2 separate regions of the Homo sapiens genome follow, and region 1 is linked to region 2. The links are contacts of gene promoters, found by promoter capture Hi-C in human tissues and cell types (Jung and others, 2019). All regions are on one chromosome and are shown on one strand. The core of a region is centred on a gene start or on the middle of the fragment in contact, and the rest is flanking DNA. Distances in the headings are between cores, read along the strand shown. Region 1 holds the start of GEM (GTP binding protein overexpressed in skeletal muscle). Region 2 overlaps CIBAR1 (CBY1 interacting BAR domain containing 1).

Region 1 (5,251 bases), core at 1,033-3,532, 530 kb after region 2:
ACTCAGCTCCCCCATCAATTGTCCAAAATGCCTAACTTCAGCTCCCAACTCTGTGGGTAAATAAGTCACCCACCCTCACTCTTTCTTCCTGGGCCACCCCTGGTGGAAAGAAGCCCACTGGGGCTGGGACACCTACCTCCCAGCACCTCGCAGTCGCTGTCCATGCTGTCATGCACACCTGCAAAGATGTTGGCCAGAGTGGACTTGCCCACCCCCTGCTCCCCTATGAGCACCACTCGGTAGTAGGTGTTCCCTGACTCAGAGGAGATGACTGAGTCTGTGGAGTCAGAGGACCAGCTTCGGCGGCAGTGGTCCTCAGGGGTAGCAGAATGGCGGTTGCGGTGGCTGTACTGGTGGGGCTCTTTCTGGACCATCAGATGCCTGCCATCAGCTGGGATGCTCCAGCGCTGCTGCTGTGGCTGCATGCCCACAGTGCCCTGGCGCATGGTGACATTATTCAGAGTCATCGTTGAGTCCTGGGGAGCAAAGCAGCCAAGATGGCAGCATTAGTAAGCATGAGTGAGAGCTCCGCTCAAATACATGGTCAGTCATCAGTAATATTTTATTAGATGAGATGAGAAGCAAGTATCCCTAACATAAAGACCACCAATTAAACAGTCCCCCAAACCCCAACAAGACAGGCTTTCAACTGGACACACACATGCTGCCCACACTGTCAGTAACCAGCTCCTCAGGCAGACTATCATTTGCATGGGAAAACAAATACGGTTAACATCACCCACTGCCCATGGGCTTCCCCCTTCCTCAAAGCAGACTTGGATGAAAGAAGAGCTGCACTCAGAGCTGGCACAAAGGCAGCTGGAAAGAACCAGCAGACTCCAAAGATGGCTTGAAAAGCAACAAGTTAATGTTGCTGGGGACCAGCTGGTCAGGTTAGCTGCTCTTGTCTAAACTTGGCTCTTAATTGCACCAGTGTCCAGCAGGTTTTGTGCCTCAGTGGGAAACACGTGGCAATGACATCACCCTCCCCTCCCCTGCCCACTGCAACCCTGGCTGGACTGGACAGGCACTTATTGGAACTTCCATGTTTAGTAAAGTTGCCTTGATGCTCTCCAGCTGCCTGGAGAGCATCCACCTGCCATTATTGGGGGTAGGGGGGAAATTTTCTGTTTAAAGTTTATGCCTCAGCTGTGCCCTCTTACCCACAGATACCACTTTTAAAACATCCCGGCTCCAAACCTAGACACCCTGGCAGAGAAATGACCTGCTCATGTTCAGACCTATGAAATTTGCAGAGAAAGTGCCTCATTCTTAAAAAACCACATCCATTCTCAAGAGTTCTTTAATTCAACTCAGATTCCTTTTTTGAGTCAGGGTCTTGCTCTGTCACCCAGGCTGGAGTGCAGTGGCACGATCATAGCTCACTGTAGCTAGCCTCCAACTGCCAGGCTCAAGAGATCCTCCACTTCAGCCTCCCAAGTAGCTGGGACTACAGACCTGCACTACCACGTCCACTAGTTTTTTTATTTTTATTTTTATTTTTTGGTAGAGACAGTGGCCTCACTATGTTGCCCAGGCTGGTCTCGAACTCCTGGGGTCAAGTGATCCTCCTGCCTCGGCTTCCGAAAGTGCTGAGATCACAGGCCTGAGCCACCATTCTCAGATCCCCTTCTTGAAGCAAATCAGAAGGCTGAAGACTCCCCTAAATGATATTCAACAACTTCTCTACAACTTTCCCTTTGCAGACTGCCTCCCCTAGCCGGGAGGTCTGTTTTTCCGGCTACTGGTGATAAAGTATAAGTACTTACGTTGCAATCAGCAAGATGCACAAACACTCCTCTCCCACCCTCACCCCCACACTCCGTACCCCAACATCTCGCCACTAACCAGGACGACCAGCCGGTTTTTTAGTCTCAAAAGCAGCACCTCAGTTGGCAGACTTACATTCAAACAACAAATACATAAAGCATCATTAAGGGCTGCCCTCTCTGACCACTCGATCTGTAGAGGGAGGTGACCCTTCTACCGAATTGAACTAAGGAACCTGCTGATGAGAAGCGACATCCTTTGCACTTGAAGCTCTGACCCCTACCAGAAAATCCCAGTGCTGAGCGCACGTTCCAGGGGTTCTTTTCTCAACTTCGAAAGTTCTGCGGGCTGGGAAACTCCCACTCTCTCCCTTCTCCGTCTCGGGCCGTCCCCCTTACTTGGCTCGGCCGGATCGGCGTCGGGGCGTCAGCGTATCGCGTGGGTCCGCGCTGGGATACCCGGGCCAACGAGCGGGGAGTGCTGCGCTGTGCCCGCCGTCCTTGCCCGCCGCCTGCAGCCGCCGCGGCCGGGCGGTTTATAACCAGCCCAGCCGACCCGCCGCGGGGCTTTTCCGTGACGTCAGCGCCCCCGCCGGGAGGGGGCGGCTCTGCAGCAAACTCGGAGTTGCAGCCACTTGGCTAAATCAGTTACTCGCAGTCATGTGACCCCTTCTCTCTCCATTTAAAAAATAATGACAGTTCAATCCTGGGCCTCCTTTATTTTGTTTTATTTTCTTTTTACCAGATGAACACAGGAAAATGGAAAAATACACTAAGTGACACTTAATCGTCCTTCCCAGCAAAGCACTTGCGAGCTGTCGGGATAAAGGATGGAAGGGAGAGGCAGGTTTGAGTTGAGAACTCAGTTTTGCCAAGAAAACAGAGATCAACCTGGAATGCGCAGAGACTTTAGCCTCCAGGATGAGACTGCAGCCACCTTGAATAGCCAAGGCTTGTTTTAACCACATCTTCTGCAACGAAGACAGCCTTGTCACCTTCTTCTGGATAGGGGGAAGCAGATGGAGCCCCACAAGGCTTTGTTTCCCTTCTCTGGCAAGGACCCAGAGAGAAGGGGCCAGAAAGAGGTGAGGAAAGAGGACAAGACCTTGAAAAGGGCAGTTTGGAAAAACAATTTAATTGAGGATCCAAGCAGATTGTGCTAAATATTGCTGGCCCTCCTGCTCTGGGCCAGAATGCTGAGGCTCCTCAATCAGGGAATTTAATCAGCATCCCAATCAGCAGCATCTCTGTACCAGGCTCCCTGGCAAGGCTACGCCTTGGGCATGAGCCAATACAGCCTGGCCATGGGGAGGAGCACTGAGACCAACACCCCTGTAAGAGACTCCTGTGAACAAAGGGCACAGGATAATAACTACTACTACCATTTATTAAGTACCTCTGAGGACCTCTGCTTAGTAGGTACTGTTAGGCCTCCTGGGACCTTAATCCTTACTATACTTCTGCAAGGTGGCTCTATTTCTACCCTCATTGTATGGAGGAGGAAGATAACATAGGGCCAGAGAATTTGCCCAAGGTCACACCGCTGGTATAAGTGGCAGGGTCAGGACTCAAAGCCTGGTTTTCCTGAGTCTCTGCACTGCACCACCAAGTGAAGGATTTCAATGACCTCTTTCTGGGGACATGGGTATTTCCCAGATGCTGTGTTTAGAGATGATGCTGGCCTCTCCAACATATCTGCTTTTCCAGCCAGCTTCAACTCTGGGTTGGCTGGTGGCTCCGGGAAGCAGCCAAAGGCACCAGCATCTATTGAAGCAGCTGGACTCTGCTGTGATTAGAGTCAATTCACAGTTATCCTGCAGGCATTTATCTGCTTTGAGAATTAGCTACATGACCAGCTGCTGAGACCTGCCAGGTCCCAAGCTAGCAAAGGTGGAATCCATAGAGTAATGAAAACTTAGAATTCCTTTAGTCTCAGGTGTTGTGGCCCCAATCTCCTACTTATCTTATACATAAGAAACCTGAGACCCAGAGAGGAGATGACCGCTTAGGACATGACAGAACTGGAACTACAACCTGGGGATCATAATTCTCTGGATGCCCTTTGCTTCTGTCAAGTTTTTCTTCTGGGTTTCGCTGACAGGAAGTGGCTACAGATGTGGGGAAAGGAAAAGGAGAGGAGATGGGGGGTGGGGGAGATCATCTCCAAGAGTATATCACTGACTCCATTCTAAAACACATGTAATTGATGAATAATCCATGTTTCAAAATGATCCATGCTTTTTCCATACTGACACTCCTACTCTGTCAACTGGTCTCAACAGAAACATCATAGGAGTAAAAACTAAGAAGAAATCAGTTTATAAGCATATGATATAGTTCCTCAGTTCTACTTTTGCCGATTGATAAGAATCTAATACTTCACATTTATAAAAACCTAATTCTGGCCAGGCACAGTGGCTCACGCCTGTAATCCTAGCACTTTGGGAGGCTGAGGTGGGTGGATCACGAGGTCAGGAGTTCAAGACCAGCCTGGCCAACGTAATGAAACCCTGTCTCTACTAAAAATACAAAAAAATAGCCGGGCATGGTGGTGGATGCCTGTAATCCCAGCTACTCAGGAGGCTGAGGCGGGAGAATCGCTTGAACCTGGGAGGCAGAGGTTGCAGTGAGCCGAGATCGTGCCATTGCACTCCAGCCTGGGCGACACAGCAAGACTCCATCTCAAAACAAACAAACAAAACAAACAAAAAAAAAACTAATTCCATACCTAGGCAATATCTACTATGAACTATTTGTCATTGGTATATGTGAAACATACAAAAGAAAATGAACTCCAGGGACTGGGGAAAGGGAAGGGGCACACAGCAATGTTGTGTTTGGATAATAGAACAATTTTTAAATTTTTTAAATTGTCTGTCTCACAAGAAGCCACATGAACACAAACAAGAACACTACTTAAGAAGAGTCTTGACTAAAAGTTAAGTTTGAGTAATTATTTAGAGAAAAATCATAGTTATACTTCACAAAAAGCACATCTGAGCGCCAAATCTCATCTAGCCAAGTCTCAGATCCCTCGACCAGGATTCCAGCTCACTGGGATCATCTTGAGGGTGTGGAGCTGGAGAGAAAAGGTAGAATCAGGGCATTTGGGTAAGTGGCAAGTTTTGAAGAGGAAAAATTGGCAGAAAGTTGTCTTTTGTTCTATGAATTATTCTCTCCATATTCTTTCTGCCAGCATTTGAAGGCTTCCTCAGTTTCTAGCTACAATGAGTAGCTCAAGAGTATAGCAAAGAGGCAGAATTCAAAGCAACAAAAATAACTCACATTTACTTACCAAAATGCATGCCTATCTCAGCTAATCCGCATCACCCCTACAGTTACCCATATTCTATGGGGAAAGGTGCTGAGGAATGAGGGTTAAATAACCAGCCCAGGGTCACAGGGTGGTTAGGTGGCAGATGTGTACTCTCTGGGGCCACAGTCTTAACTGCTGTTCTATTTAGAGTAGGGGATATACGTCA
Region 2 (5,280 bases), core at 399-2,898:
AGTTTAAAAATATTAAGCCCTGATACATTATAGGGTAAAAGGAAATATTCATATAAATTAATTTAAAAATCAAAATACAAGGCTGGGCACAGTGGCTCACACCTGTAATCCCAACACATTCTGGGAGACCAAGGAGTGAGGATTGCTTGAGGCCAGAAATTTGAGAACAGCCTGGGCAACACAGTGAGACTCTGTCTCTACAAATAATAAAAAATTTAGCCAGACAAGGTGGCACACACCTGTAGTCCCAGCTCTCAGGAGGCTGAGGCAGGAAGACAGCTTGAGCCCAGGAGTTAGAAGCTGCAGTGAACCATTATCAGACCACTGCACTCCAGCCTGGCCAGCAGAACAAGACTCTGACTCTTAAAATAATAAAACTACAAAGCTTATGTTTACTCTAGCTGGCCTCTTATCTACCACCACCATCCCACCTCAGCCCAGTTTGAAATGCAATTCCACAGTAAGTAATCCCTCACGTTAAGCTTCATCTTAGCTTTATTCCTTTGTATCTGAGAAGCATTTTTTAACTTTCCATATATTATTCAAAATGGGTGACCAAATGAACCATCTATACAATCTTTGCTCAATTAAAAATATCATTTCTACTTTCTTCATTGTGCTTGGTTTGGATATTCCAAACAATCAATTTAACATTATCCTAGCTACTTACAAGCTTATACTTTAAAGAATCATACTGAGGTGCTTTTTCATATCAAATTTACCTGTTTATTCATTCCATAGCAAGCAGGATATTCACTATTTAAAACAAATTTAAGCAGATTTCTGTTAGATTTCTTTAAATCACTGAAAAGTAACACAAAAATACATATAGGTAGTAACTAAGTACTGACAAAGTATTCTACCTATGCAATATCCTATTAAATGTCTAAATTACCATATGTAAATTTAATTGTATTATTTACTCAATGGGGAAAATCTGGATTACAGAACTGAGGAAAATTATGTTTTATGTAAATTATAAAAGGCCAAAGTCAATCATGTTGAATAAAATAATTTTGAAATATAAGCCAGTAATATACCATATGAGTATCCCAAGAGAAACCCTGGATAGAAAGAAACTTTTAAAGTCACTCTTTTTTTTTTTATTAGTAATGTTAATGTTTGAGCTCAGTGTTTGAGCATGCTGGTTTTACCTATTTATGCTAATTTTAAACCAACAATTGAAGTGAGAAAATAATCATTTATCCTTGAAAGTATCTTTAGCATGGTCTTCCTAATTAAAAATACCACTTAAAAAAGTGAGGCAGCAAAAGCATGAACTGGAGTCAGTGGTCTGTCTGGGTTAAAATTGGCCCCACGATTTACTACCTATGACTTCAAGCAAGTTGCTTAACCTCGCACTTCATCCCACTTCATTATCTCATTTGTGAAATAGAGGTAAATAATTAACCCTGTACTCACAGGGAATACCGAGATTATGCATGTAAAGTGCTTACAGTGCCTAGCACATAGTAAGTGCCTAATAAATGTTAGCCATAAATATTATTGTGGGTATAGAAAATCAAATTCCCTAGTTGCAAAATGTATGCACTAAATGCTGAATATCAAAGAAGTCAAAATTCAACCACACAAGTCTTAACAGTTATAGAGTCTTTGCATGGACACAGTTTCGAAGCTAAAAAATGAGAACCTAATATTACATGCAAGTTATGTGACTCATCAGTAAATTCTTCCTAGAAAAACAAACTATACCACTTGTCAGATTCTTCCAGCATAAGCCTGAGTCCCCTTGCACCTATAATTAGATTCTTATTTTACTATCTTTTGCGTATCTTGTATTAATTTTACTTGGTTGATAAGATGTTGAAGAAACCATGGAATTATACACAGCACTATACATTATTACTATAGAATGTCTGGTCCCTCCCATCATAAATATGGTTTAATGAAGTTATTGAAAAACTTCACAATATCGAGCTGCAATTCTTTTTTCTTTTTATACAAATACAAGTTAATTAGCTCTATTAAGTTGCAATTTTATTTTTATAAAGCTTTGTAAAGTTATGAACATGGAAACCCTAAGAATCACCTAAGCTTTTTACATAAGTAAATTTCAAGTTGACAGTCTGTCCATTTTGAACTATTTATAATTAACAGGACACTTAACACAGTAATATCTTAGACAAGGAAGAGGGCATTAATTCTGCAGGCAGGTAGCAATGAAAATGCCAAACCTGAACAATCAGTCACTATTTCCTTATACAGTTTGAGTAAAAGAGGTAGACTACAGAAAGAAAAAAAAAAGTGAATATAAAATGTATCTTCCCCAAATACAACTCTACTTCAATAAGTCTTGAAGATTACCGATGACATCAACAAAAATGAATGAACTCAGGGAATGAGTTCTTTCTCCCCATCAAAGAAAAAAACAGCATGTGTAATTTTAAATTTGAAAAAAAAAAAGAATGGCAATTTGCAAGCAAAAGAAAACCAGATTCACATTCTACTATTTACATTTGTTCTATTCACAGGTCAAAAATAAAATATTTCATTAGATAATTTAAAAAAAAAACACTTTTTTAAAACAAATGTATTTTACTCCATCAATACTGCAAGGAAGATAACTGAATTTAGAAATGCTCTCTCTCTACAGCAAAGTTAACTTAACTTTTCGGGGCCCAACTGGCCTATCATTTAGATCTTTAATAGCAGCCATAGCTTCATTATAGTTTATCATAGCAACAATGGCTTCCCCTGTAGGTAAGCCTTGCTCATTATACTGTATCGAAACTGAATCAGGTATGATTCTGTAACCATGGAAAAAGTCTAAAATTTCATTCACATTAGCTTTAAATGGAAGATTCATTATCTTAATAGGAGTTACTCTACCTGAACCACAATTTATTTTTGGATCAGGCATAAATCTCCCCTCAGGAAAACTTCCCATATTATGCTTTCCAAAATCAAACTTGCCACCTTCTGGGCGACCAAAATTCACAAAAGGGCGGTGACTTCTAAAATCATCAGGCGGGCTCCTAAAATCCTCACCAGGAGGTCTAAAATTGTCAGGAAGTCTAGGGTCCTCCTCCGGAGCTTCCCTAAGGTCTTCCTCTGGGAGCTGCCTGAAGTCCTCATCAGAAGGGCATCTAAAATCTTCCTCCTGGGGGCTCCTGAAGTCCTCATCAGGAGGGTGCCTAAAGTCTTCATCAGGAGGGCCCCTGAAGTCTTCATCTGGTGGGTGCCTGAAATCTTCCTCTCGGGAGCGCCTGAAATGCTCCTGAGGCGGCCGCCTGAAATGCTCCTGGGGCGGTCTCCGGAAGTGCTCCGGGGGCGGGCGCCTGAAATGCTCTGGGGGTGGCCGCCTGAAGTGCTCTGGGGGTGGCCGCCGGAAGTGCTCTGGGGGAGGCCGCCTAAAATGCTCTGGAGGTGGTCTCCGGAAATGCTCTGGGGGTGGCCGACGGAAATGCTCCTGAGGTGGCCTCCGGAAATGCTCCTGGGGTGACTGCCTGAAGTCCTCCTCAGGGGAATGCCTGAAATCCTCCTCTGGGGGCCGCCTGAAGTCATCCTCGGGTGGTCGCCTCCATTCTCCCTGAAGAGGCCGCCTAAAGTCCTCCTCTGGGGGCCGTCTCCAGTCCTCCTCAGGTGGCCGCCTGAAATCTTCCTCTGGGAGCCACCTTAAGTCCTCCTCAGGGGGTTGCCTGAAGTCCTCCTCGGGGAGCTGCCTGAAGTCCTCCGTGGGAGACCGCCTGAAATCCTCCTCCAGTGGCCGCCTCCAGTCCTCCTCAAGGGGCCTCCTCCAGTCCTCCTCCCTAGGGTGCCTGAAGTCATCCTCCGGAGGGCGCCTGAAATCTTCCTCCCAAGGGCGCCTGAAGTCCTCCTCAGAAGGCCGCCTGAAGTCTTCCTCCCTAGGTCGCCTGAAGTCCTCTGGGGAGTGCCTGAAGTCCTCCGGGGGGAACCTAAAGTCCTCTGAGGAGTGTCGGAAGTCTTCTGGAGGGTGCCTGTCAGGCTGCCGGAAATCCCTCTGGGGATGCTTGAAGTTATCCAGTTGCCTCAAGTCCTCTAGCTGATGTCTAAAGTTTTCAAAAGCACCAACTGAGTATATTGGTGGGTCTTTTGAGTCAAATAAATGGGAATGGTCACCTCGCTCACGTGACTGTGAGCGAGCTTGCATTTTTTCACTGGACATCACAGAAAAATTTACACCAAACTCCTGTATTTGTGCCTCAGATATAAGTCTTAATAACACCTCTGTCCCTAGGAATCTTCGTCGGTTTAAACGTTCAGCTTTCATGGCCTGTTCTTCTGATTTAAATTTCACTAATGCTTCTCCCAGACCAACACCTTTGTCATCATAAAGCAAGTAAATGTCATCCTCAGCAAGAAGAAAGTCTGCAAAGAACTTCTGCACTTCAACTTTTGTAACATCAAATGGAAAATTTCTTATATAGATGCACAGTTTCTGGCCAGAGTTACCTTCTTGAGAGTATTTTTGTGAAACATGTCCGGGCCTATCTCTCTCTAGTGACCCTGATCTCTTCTTTTCATAACGTGCAATGAACTTCAGCATTTGTTTTCTAGAAATTGGATCAATATGAACTGGACGATATTGTAAAACAGTCTTATGTAAACTCAGAGCGGTATTATAGTCTTTCAGAGTCTTGAACATCACAAAGGCATATCTTGTTCTATTTTCATCTTTATATAAAAACCTAATCTGTTCATCAGTCAGATCAGTACCTCTAAAGAAATTTCTTAAATCTCTTTCGTCAATACTGAGGGACAGATTTTTTAAGTGAACATAAAATCCAAGAGGGGAACGAGAACGTGTTCTTCTGGGAGATTTTGAATGAGACCGTTTTCGAAAATGTCTATCATTAATTCCTCTTGGTGGAGAATGTTCTTCAGATCTCCTAAGAACGTCACCCTCCTTAACTGCATTACCACCAAACTCAATCCACTGTTGTTCTGATCCTTGCATTACTTCTATAAATCTTGAACCCATAAAACTTCTATGACATTTAAGACCTCCTGAAGCATCAACACATGAAGCAAATTTTACTATGGCATCACCATTATTTCGGCCATCATGATGTTTTAAGAAAATTACTCCATCCACGCACAAACCAGAGAAAAAGACACGTACATCATCTTCATTTACTAGGTAAGGCAAACCTCGTAGAAACAAGTAAGGATTCTCGGCCTTCAATGGCCTTGTCTTTCTTGGCCTTAAATTACCATGTCCTGTACCATTAGTATGAAACCCAGCATCTTGATTAATTGAAGAGCCATATCCAGAATTACTTGCTTCTTCCTTAACAG

Evidence for each region. The method cuts DNA at HindIII sites, captures the fragments that hold promoters and counts their contacts. A contact is called where the count stands out against the background at its distance.
Region 1: the fragment with the promoter of GEM here is called in contact with a fragment that was not itself captured in region 2 in 1 of the 25 tissues and cell types used here (hippocampus).

What each region holds. Positions count from the first base shown.
Region 1 is chr8:94,260,037-94,265,287 of GRCh38, forward strand. GEM (GTP binding protein overexpressed in skeletal muscle) reads right to left here and starts at 2,283. Exons shown (of 5, transcript NM_005261.4): 1 at 2,054-2,283; 2 at 137-476. The coding sequence starts at 467. RefSeq lists silencers at 240-383, 1,525-1,594. The HindIII fragment of the contact is 10,611 bases long and covers 1-5,251 here.
Region 2 is chr8:93,730,797-93,736,076 of GRCh38, forward strand. CIBAR1 (CBY1 interacting BAR domain containing 1) reads left to right here. Exons shown (of 9, transcript NM_145269.5): 9 at 1-731. It overlaps RBM12B (RNA binding motif protein 12B), which reads right to left. Exons shown (of 4, transcript NM_001377960.1): 4 at 1-5,280. The coding sequence ends at 2,609. Among named protein-coding and RNA genes, the nearest start is that of RBM12B-AS1, 6.7 kb to the right of the region's middle. The HindIII fragment of the contact is 4,463 bases long and covers 1-3,880 here.